Linked DNA regions of Homo sapiens: region 2 is linked to region 1. Evidence: promoter capture Hi-C in 16 types of primary human blood cells and fetal thymus (Javierre and others, 2016). All regions are on one chromosome and are shown on one strand. The core of a region is centred on a gene start or on the middle of the fragment in contact, and the rest is flanking DNA. Distances in the headings are between cores, read along the strand shown.

What was found. Contacts are between HindIII fragments. The CHiCAGO score rates a contact against its expected background, and 5 or more counts as called.
Region 2: a contact is called between a fragment that was not itself captured here and the fragment with the promoter of KPNA5 in region 1, in 1 of 17 cell types (total CD8 T cells). The highest score is 5.8, in total CD8 T cells.

What each region holds. Positions count from the first base shown.
Region 1 is chr6:116,679,453-116,684,940 of GRCh38, reverse strand. KPNA5 (karyopherin subunit alpha 5) reads right to left here and starts at 3,730. Exons shown (of 14, transcript NM_001366306.2): 1 at 3,603-3,730. The coding sequence starts at 3,606. RefSeq lists enhancers at 2,168-3,149, 3,150-4,133. The HindIII fragment of the contact is 1,991 bases long and covers 2,224-4,214 here.
Region 2 is chr6:122,384,733-122,390,061 of GRCh38, reverse strand. No RefSeq gene overlaps it. Among named protein-coding and RNA genes, the nearest start is that of HSF2, 12 kb to the left of the region's middle. The HindIII fragment of the contact is 804 bases long and covers 2,812-3,615 here.

The DNA.
Region 1 (5,488 bases), core at 2,481-4,980:
TGCATTCCCATCAGTAATGTATGAGAGTTCCAGTTGCTTTGCATCCTGTCTCCATTTGATGATTTAAGGGGTTTTGTCGTTGCTGTTGCTAGTCATAGCCATTCTAATAAGTGTATAGTGACTCTGGTTTTAAACATGGTAAATGTGTAGTACTTGGTGCACATGTAGGAGGCTTTGATCTGTAGATGGTTGAAAATACGGATCAGAACTCAGGACAGGGATCTGGAGTGATCATTTGCTATCATGTAGAGCTACAGAAGAAGGATGACCAAAGGAGAAATCTTGGGGACCATCATATTTTAGCAGAAAAAGGCAAGAGCAAAAGAAACCAAAAAGAAGTAGGTCAGAGAAGTAGAAGAATAAGGAAGAAATTAAGAGTCCTGCAAAGGAAAGGAGTTCAAAAGATAAAGGAATATTTAAGTTGTAGTACCACTGAAAACAGGCCACTCGGTTTATTCATTCATTGATTCATCCAGAAAATAAAAGTGCCTGTAATAATCCAAGTACCATATCAGGCATCAGATTTGGTAATTATGTCACTGGTAAAGATAGTGAGACAAATCTCACTACTGGTGGAGCTCAAGGTAGAAGGGAAGGGGCTGAGGACTTGAGAATGATTGAAAAGAAATGCATGATTAATTTACCAAAATTCCTCCTTTAAAATATTTAATAGATTCAGCAATACTATGTGCACCTACAAATAGATATCATTAGAAACTGCTCAATATGGCCGGGCGGGGTAGCTCACACCTGTAAACCTAGCACTTTAGAAGGCCAAGGAGAGTCGATCGCTTGAGGTCAGGAGTTCAAGACCGGCCTGGCCAATATAGTGAAACCCTGTCTCTACTGAAAATACAAAAATCAGCTGGGCATGCTGGTAGAAGCCTGTAATCCCAGCTACTCTGGAGGCTGAGGCAGGAGAATTGCTTGAACTCGGGAGGCAGAGGTTGCAGTGAGCCAAGATCGCTCCAGCCTGGACTCCAGCCTGGGAGACAGAGCAAGACTCTGTCAAAAAAAAAAAAAAAAAAAAAAAAAAAAAAAAAAGGCCGGGCACGGTGGCTCACGCCTGTAATCCCAGCACTTTGGGAGGCCGAGGCAGGTGGATCACAAGGTCAGGAGATCGAGACCATTTTGGCTAACACAGTGAAACCCCATCTCTATTAAAAATACAAAAAATTAGCCGGGCGTGGTGGTGGGCACCTGTAGTCCCAGCTACTCAGGAGGCTGAGGCAGGAGACCCCGGGAGGGAGACTCCTGGCATGAACCCCGGGAGGCGGAACTTGCAGTGAGCCAAGATCATGCCACTGCACTCCAGCCTGGGCCACAGAGTGAGACTCCATCTCAAAAAAAAATAATAAATAAAAGAGGGAAACCGCTCAACATAACTTTACTAATAACAATGTTTGGTATTATTCTCTATTTTATATCTATAAAAAGCTAGACTCTTGAAAGGAAAAAATTAGAGATCAGAGTTCATTACAGTGCAAACTGACCACAGTATTAGTTGTTGAATTACGCTCAATATATATAAAATATTTAAGTAAAATAAAATGCTCATGGAAATAAAACTCTTAAAGTATTTATCACCTATATATGTAGCATATTCTAGGCCACTGGCTCTAAACGTTTTCAATCACACATCCTACATTCGTAAAATACATTTGTGCATTCATCCTCAATATATTTATTTCTATACATGCATTACTATTCTAATATACTACTCTAGCATAAAATTCACAAAAAACAGAAATTTTTAAGAATGAAAGTTTTAAAAGGTAAACAAATAGAAGTTCTAATATTTTCTTACCACATCTGACTGGATCACCTTGTGCCCCACCACGCACACATACAAAGGCGCTACTTATGAGACCATTAATCCAAGCAACCACATTGTAACTGTTCAGCATAAATTTTAGCCAAATAAAATACAGCACCAACAACTCAGATATCACTTGTTCCTTTTTCTTCAATAGTACTGACTTCCGGCTTCAGATTTAACACTGCATCCATCCTCACTGCAGTTGCTTTAAAGGGGACAATAAACCAAGGGAAATTATCTCTAAAGGGGCCCCATCCAATGGGATTGTTTCGTTCACTGAAAAATAAATTTAAAGGCTGCACTTCAAAGGCTGAGGTCTCATAAAAATTAAATATTTTTATTTAGAAATGTTATTCCAGCACTTTAAAGTTACAGAATAGAGGAATTTTTTTCATTCATAAGCTTTCAACGGCTCTTAGAAAAACCATGTTTAAGTTGGGCAAATAACTGGAATCTGAACTTATGATTTTCTTTAATATCAATCGACATTATTTCTTATGCCAGTAAAGCCTTCATTTCCATGGGGCTGGGCGCCTCATTAGTGAAAGTAAAAGACTGCACAAAGCGGGGGAAGTGCCAACTAGAGAGCCCTCACAACCAAACAAGCAGTACTTAGGTCGGAGGGAGAGAGTTGCTCCTGACCTACCAAGAAAACCACTTTTGTACAGAATATGAGTCATCATTATTGGGTGTTGTAATTGAGAGATAAATCATTAGTGTTTTTGTCTTTTTTAAAAAACATGTCTAAAAAGCTCAAAAGTAAATGCCAGTGTCATATTCTTTTGTTTGTTTTTTGAGACAGAGTCTCGCTCTGTCGCCCGGGCTGGAGTGCAATGGCGCTCTCGGCTCACTGCAAGCTCCGCCGCCCGGGTTCACACCGTTCTCCTGCTTCAGCCTCCCGAGTCGCTGGGACTACAGGCGCCCACCACCATGCCAGGCTAATTTTTCCTTTTTTTGTATTTTTGGTATTTTTTTTGTATTTATTATTTTGTATTTTATTTTGTATTTTTTGTATTTTTGGTAGAGACGAGGTTTCACCGTGTTAGCCAGGATGGTCTCGATCTCCTGACCTCGTGATCCGCCCGCCTCCGCCTCCCAAAGTGCTGGGATTACAGGCGTGAGCCACCGCGCCCGCCGCCAATGTCATATTCTTTAGACATATCACTGTCATTTCACAGCTTTCAAATACTTCCATCTCCTATGTATTATCGATGAAAACCTAAGTTTTCATCTTAGAACGGAGCTGCCCGACTATTAGAAGCGTGGAACCCAGGCTTGCCTTGTCGTCGGGAATGAGCACTAGAGGCACCTGCACGCAGGTGGAGGAGGGAGGCTGGCGGATGGAGAGGGCGAGGCTAGGAGGCCCTCGGGATGGAACCTGTCTCTTCTTTGGACACTGTGGAATTTCCATAAGCTGCTGGACACAGCTGATGGGTACCAGGTATGAGTGGCAACGTTTGGCAATTCCATTAACTGAAAAGAACTACCGAGAAACGGTGAGGCGGGGCGGCGAAGATGAGACCAGCTGCCCATCACTCCAGAGGACCTGCTGAAAGAATCTGAACTCACCACGCCTTCGCGTCCGCAAGGGAAAGGTCCGGCTGCCACGCCCCCGCGACCGCTGTCGCCCTGGGGAAAACACGAGAAACACCCGGCACCGCCAGGTTCCAGAGACCTTCGCAAAGTAAGGGGTAAATAAAAACCGTGGCCCCAGGAACTAGTAGTTCCCAAAGGGACCAAAACCGAGGCTCCCCCAACCTAGCCCGTGTTCACTCCAACTTACCCATTAATGTGGCACTCTCCGATGCCCTGATTTCCCAGTCCCCAGCGGCGACGTGTGTGGCGGGTAACAGAAGGGCCGCCACTCCGCCCCTGGCGTGAAGCGTAGCGACCCAGTTCGCAATCCAAGATGGCGGCCACCTGCGCCCCTTCTCCGAGACCCCGAGGCTCGGCTCCCAGAAGCCCTTGCACTCGACGCGGCGGCGGCGGCGGCGGCGGCGGCGGCGGCGGAGGAGGAGTGGTGGCCGCACATCCTAGCAGTGGGGCGTAGAGAAAGTGCGCGCCGCCGTCCCACCCACCGAAGGAGGAGCCTGTGCCTGCGACAAGCCCTGGATTTTAGTTGCGCTTGCGGTGGCCATGCTGTAGGTACTCTGCGGCCCGTAGACCTCCGTGTGTGCAAAGGGACGACCCCTCATTCATTCATTCTTCACGCGTGCGTGCATGCATACATTCTTAAGGATATAAACTGTGTCAAGTACCATTTTAGATACATTATTGGGGCTACAACAGTGCAAAAAAGTTGGTAAAAATCGCAGCCTTGTTAAGTGTACGGAGAAGCTCACGTTTTCTTCAGCTTCATTAACTTTTATATGCTCTGCTCGTTTTATTTCAAGCTTTTTGTCATTTATAATTTTATATTCTATAACATCTGCGGTTTTTTGTTTTTGTTTTTCTGTTTTTGGGGGGTTTTTTTTGAGACGGAGTCTGGCGCTGTCACCAGGCTGGAGTGCAGTGATGCGATCTCGGCTCACTGCAACCTCCGCCTCCCAGGTTCAAGCGATTCTCCTGCCTCAGCCTCCCAAGTAGCTGGGACTACAGGCATGCGCCACCACGCCCAGCTAATTTTTGTATTTTTAGTAGAGACCAGGTTTCACCGTGTTGGCCAGGATGGTCTTGATCTCTTGACCTCCTGATCCGCCCGCCTCAGCCTCCCAAAGTGTTGGGATTACAGGCATGAGCCACCACACCCAGCCACATGAGTGTATTTTTGACAGCAATGTAGTCACCAATAAACGAGTAACTTCAGTTAAAGTACTGTAGATTATAATACACAGCCCTGTAATCTACCCTGGAGTTCAACAAACGGTATTGAAAACAGACTGTGTTCCAGATGCAATAGGAAGAGAATAAATAAGATAAACAATACATAAATCCTGCCCAGAAGACGTTTGCAATTTTTTAAGAGGAAAAACATGAAGACAAATTGTTTTAAGATGTTTGCTATTTTCAATAGTTGAAAAATAAACAGGAGAGAAGGGATTATTTAACTGTGGGTATGTAGGGCTGAGAAAGGCACGCTTGACAAAGGAAACCTGGGCAGTGTTACCAGAAAGCGTTGCCAATCATGAGTCCATATAGTGAAGTGAAAGCAAGTTTATTAAAGAAGTAAAGAAACAAAAGAATGGCTACTCCATAGGCAGAGCAGTGGCTTGGGCTGCTGGACTGAGTATATAGTTTTTTTGTGTGTTGTTTGTTTGTTTTGACACGGAGTCTTGCTCTGTCGCCCAGGCTGGAGTGCAGTGGCGCCATCTCGGCTCACTGCAAGCTCCGCCTCCCGGGTTCACGCCATTCTCCTGCCTCAGCCTCCCGAGTAGCTGGAAATTTATTGTATTTTTAGTAGAGACAGGGTTTCACCGTGTTAGCCAGGATGGTCTCAATCTACTGACCTGGTGATCCTCCTGGCTCGGCCTCCCAAAGTGCTGGGATTACAGGCGTGAGCCACCGCGCCCAGCCAGTTATTTCTTAATTATATGTTAAACAAGGGGTGGATTATTCATGAGTTTTCAAGGAAGGGGGCAGGCAATTTTTGGAACTTAGGGTTCTACCCTCTTTTAGACTGTATGACTTCTGGATGTTGCCATGGCATTTGTAAACTGTCATGGTGCTGGT
Region 2 (5,329 bases), core at 1,964-4,463, 5.7 Mb before region 1:
CATTGGTGCTTTTATTTCTGTGTAGTAGTAAATTCAGATTTTCATGTATAATTTGCATGGTAAATCTATACTTTAGATTACTGTACCAGGATATAAAAAGAGCATGCTGCTGTTTAAAAAGCCCCACGTTTGAGCTAACAGAATGCTATTGTATACGTATCCAACACTATGACGCTCCTAGCAACAAGAAATGTCAACATCATGCTTCTATGGCAATAGCAAATGTTTAAGCAAGACAGAGAATAATCTAATATTTAGTGCTCAGGGGTGATTTCACCTTTGGATAGAAATAAAAGGAGATACCTTTATTCTTTGTTATTTTCATAACACAATGCAAAGCCAGGAAACTATACACTTTATTACATGTGATTTTTGGGGGCACTGGTGGCTGAAGATATATTCTGTATTGCTTTTGGACCAATTTAGGTCTGGTTTATTTTCCACTGAATTAATTCATAATTATCTGTAACTATCTCTTCTAGTCCTAGCCAGCTGTGAAAAATGAAGATAGTAAACAAAATGAGCTAGTGTTCTGGTGTTTAGAGATATTTATTGAAATTGAGACCCAGAGAGGTTCGATTACATTCTAATAGGTTCACGATCAGCATGTTTTATATATATATGTGTGTGTGTGTGTTTGTGTGTGTGTGTGTGTGTGCATGTGTTTTGATTCAGACTTTTCCACTTTGAAGCCTATGCCTTTCTATCACTTTATGATTTGCCGTATGATGACCCTAGAAGAATCCAAACCAAATCTGGTATCCCAAGTCTCTTGTATCTGATGTTCCCAGAGTGAGTGCTTGACATCCCCTGTTCAAAGTGGCAGGCTTCCAATTTGACTCTCTTTAGCCTATAACTAGGCTGCACTCCAATTCCCATATGAGAGGCAGAGCCCTGCCGCCCATACCCACCTACTTGGCTGGGCTGCTCCCTTAGCCCTTACTCAGGATCTTCCACAGGCTGGCTAAGACCTATAGTCACCAGTTAACAAGACTCTATTCTAATAAGAATTAGAATGTGTAATAAAGTTCTGCTTTTTTATGGTAACTATTTTAATGTTTTTAAGATATAAAAATCTGCAATAAACAAACAAATGAACATAATTGAACAAAAACATGTTTTGGTTCTCCTGCTTTGGTGCTTAGTGAGGTCATTGTGTGCTTTGATCCTGAGTCTTGTTTCCATCAGATAAATCATTTGGGTCTTTATACTATGTGTTATGGGCTGACTTGTGTCCCCTCAAGCTTTATTTGTTGAAATTTGAATCCCCCAGTACCTCAGAATGTGACTGTTTTTTGAGATAGGGCCTTTATGGATATAATTGATATAAAATGAGTCCATGCAGGTAGGCCTGATCTAGTATTACTGGTGTCCTTATAAGAAGGGGAGATTCAAATGCAGACAATACACAGACCTACAGACTGAGGGGTAATTATGTGAGAACACAGGGAAAAGGAATCCATCGGCAAGCCAAGAAGAAAGGTCTTAGAAGAAACTAGATCTGCCAACACTTTGATCTTGGACTTCTAGCCTCCAGAACAGTGAGAAAATAATTTTCCATTGTTTTAGCAACTGAGACTGCTAATGTACTCTCTATAGGAGGACTTTCAACTATACCAAAACCTTGTGACAACCAAAAAGTCCAACTACTCTGGATATTAAACAACTTTGATAAAAACATTTTACTAACCTTGCTGATTTATAGTGGCTGGATAAACTCATGAACACATTTTAATGGCTATTAATATTTTTTATTTTTATAACCAAAAAAGTTAATTATGAGACATTAAGGCATTATTTTAAGCCTAGGTGAAATGAGAATTATTTCTCCATATTAAAATTAAGATAATCATTGTGAAATTTGTCATTGAGTATAAAAAGTTTAATAAATATGCAATACTTGATACCTAAGAATGCAAAAATTGACTGTATATTTTAAGTGTCATCAAATGACATTTTCCCTTGGCTAGCCTAATGCTTTTAAATTATCCTTGAACAAGTAATTGGATGGATTTTTACTATTTATTTATGTATTTTTTTAAGATTTTATCATATACAGCACTTAATTTTCTAGGGATCCAATTTCTAGAAAAGGGAAGATTCAGTTTTGTTTTGTTCAGAACTTTACCAAGAGTTATTCACATCACCAATATGTGCTATTTATTTTCAACTGCACGTGTCACTCCTCTGCTCAAAACTTTGCAAAGGCTCTCCATTTCCATCTCTCCACTCCAATTAAAGTCAAAGTCTTTTCAATGCCTACAAGCACCTGTGTGATTTGTCTTCACCCAACCCCGGCCTCTGGTAAAACCTCTGCACCTGGGTTGTGGGGATTGGGGGAAGACTGATCACATATTTCTTCTCTTAATGCTCTTACCTCTTTACAGATGTATTGGAGTCCTTATTCTTCAAACATGTTGGGAGCACTTTGTCTTAGGGTCTTTGCACTAACAGCTTTCTCTGCCTGGAATGCTCTTTCCTCTAGATATTCTCCTCCTGGCTTCTAAGATTTTGCTCAAACGTCATATTTTCTATGAGGCCTGTCCTGACCAGCCTGTTTAAAATTGTAACCTTCTTGATTACTCTCCCCTATACAACCCCAATTTCTTTTTAGTTTTTCCACAAGGCCAGGGATCTTCATTTTTTTCCATGGATGTATTCCAAGAAGTGTGCCTGGCACATTATGAGTGTTCATTAAATATTTATTGAAAAATGAATAAATGAATAAATAAGAGGAGAGCATCTTTATGCAATGCTATCAACTAAGTTAATAACCAGAGCTGAGTAAAGGACTTGGCATAGAGACAAGCTTTATTTAATGATGCATTAGCTCTACTCTACTCCAAGTTAGCAAAGAAATGGCCCACTTCTTGGGGTTCAAGAAAGGGTGTAGGCTGATTCTTAAAAACATGAAATAAAAATCAAAGGATTTGATTGCTGTTATGAAATTTGATTCTCTCAATAATAAATACTTGTCCAAGATTTTCCATACTAACTGTAAAAAAGCATTTGTTTCACTACTGGAAAATGTTAATATTAATGTATTTTGGGAATTCAAAATACATTTGCAGAATTTCAGCCTTTTAAATCAATCAGTTTTTGACATTTCATAACTCCTGCTCTGTTTCTTTAGCTGATTCTGGAAATAAACATTTTGATTTTTCTTATTTTCACTTTATGTCTCTATAATTGTGCTAATTATATAAAATGTCTATTCAGTCCCCAAATGGAAATTATTTCTCAAATTTACTTATATCAATGGAAGGTATTACAGAAGAAAGAGCACCTATTAGAAGTTTGGCAGACATAGCTTTGCCATTATTATTATTATTGAGACAAGATCTCCCTTTTTCACACTGGCTGGAGTGCAGTGAATGATCATACCTCACAGTAGCCTCAACTCCTGGATTTAAGTGATCTTCTACCCTCAGCCTCCTGAATAGCTAGGACTATAGGTGTGTACCACCATGCCCAGCTAATTTTTGTATTTATGTAGAGATGGGGTCTCACTATGTTGCCGAGGCTGGTGTTGAACTCCTGGGATCAAGCAATCTTCTGGTCTTAACCTCCCAAAGCACTGGGATTACAGGCATGAATCACCATGCCTGGCAAGCTTTGTCATTATTAATGATAGTGTGACTGTGGACCTCTCTGAGCCTCACTCATTTACAAAACCTCATATTTAAATAATGAATTTATTATGGACAAATACACACATAATAGTAGGTGTCTAACAGATGTTCCCTGATACTGTTGAATAACTGAATGCTAAAATACTCTTCATTTGAGCAGTTCTTCTTAGATGTCTTTTGAGGTTATTTATAATTTTTATTTCCCATTAATGAATGTGCAGCCTTACATTTCATACTATTTACTCCTGCACTTCTAAGATATGAAAGCTATTGATTAGTTTAGCTACATTTTTTGAGTGTCTATTAGGTGTCTTCGGTCATACTAGTTACACTGACAATTGTACAATATTTGTGGTCCCTGCCAAGAGGAATTTATGATCTAACGAAAACACAAAATGAAAATACACAAAATCATTAGCAAATAACTAAGTATTAACCAGGTAACACTGACTAGGTGTACAGCAAAGTTAAAGATCAGAGTGGGTTGAAGAGATTAGAAAATCTTCATGGAATGAATATGGAGCATTTGAATTGGCCCCAATTAACCCTCAGCACAACAACAGCATAAGAAACGGCTTTACACTCCTTAATACATTGCAAGAACAGTTATAACTACTTTACATTTATTAACTAATTTAGTTCTGAACAACCCCCCAGGAATTAGATACTATTTTACTCCCATTTAAAAGGAAGAAATAAACCAAGAAAAAGTACTGATTAGTAATTGTGATTTTCAATCTTTCCCACCAAGTCTATAGAAGGATTGAAAAGGTTTACCAAAAGGCAGATTCTATTATGAATATTGCAGAGAAACCATCCTTACTGTAAGACAAATAATGTACAGAATTTCCAGCTATTCTTCCACATCTACCCCTTACTTCAGTACAATTAAGCTATTCCTTCTTTCTGCCTCAGTGTTATTAGCCATCTTGCTCTCCTAACTTACCTTTATGGATATCTTATGTGTCCCTCAAGAGCCCTCACAGTTTCTATGTTAATGCCCTGTCCAGGAGAAAAATATTGCATTTTTCTTATGATACTGATATTAAACTGCCTTGTAGTTATTTTGTGTTTTTTAAATTATTATTTATTTATTTTTTTGAGACGAAGTCTCACTCTGTCTCCCAAGCTGGAGTGCAGTGGCATTATCTCGGCTCACTACAATCTCCGCCTCCCGGGTTCAAGCGATTCTCCTGCCTCAGCTTCCTGAGTAGCTAGGACTACAGGTGCACGCCCCCATGCCTGGCTAATTTTTGTATTTTTAGTAGAGATGGGGTTTCGCCATGTTGGCCCGACTGGTCTCGAACTCCTGACCTCGTGATTTACCCTCCTCGGTCTCCCAAAGCACTGAGATTACAGGTGTGAGCCACCACGCCTGGCCTTGTGTTTATTTCTTATGAGCAACAGAGGAAAGGATTTATGTCTTTTTCATTTTTATGTTCCCCATTCATTCCTTATTGCTACTTCCCAACCATGATACCTGGTATGTCTTATATACTGTAGGCATTCGTTAAGTATTTATGAAATAAGTAAATGAATGAATACAGCCAAGATATTGTTCCCACTTTGCAAAAGTGGAGAAGAGGTAGCTTTCTCAATAAATGTGAAAAGAAAAAGAGAAAAGGACATTATTATTATTATTTTTGAGACAGGGTCTCACTCTGTTGCCCTGGCTGGAGTGCAGTGGCACAATCATA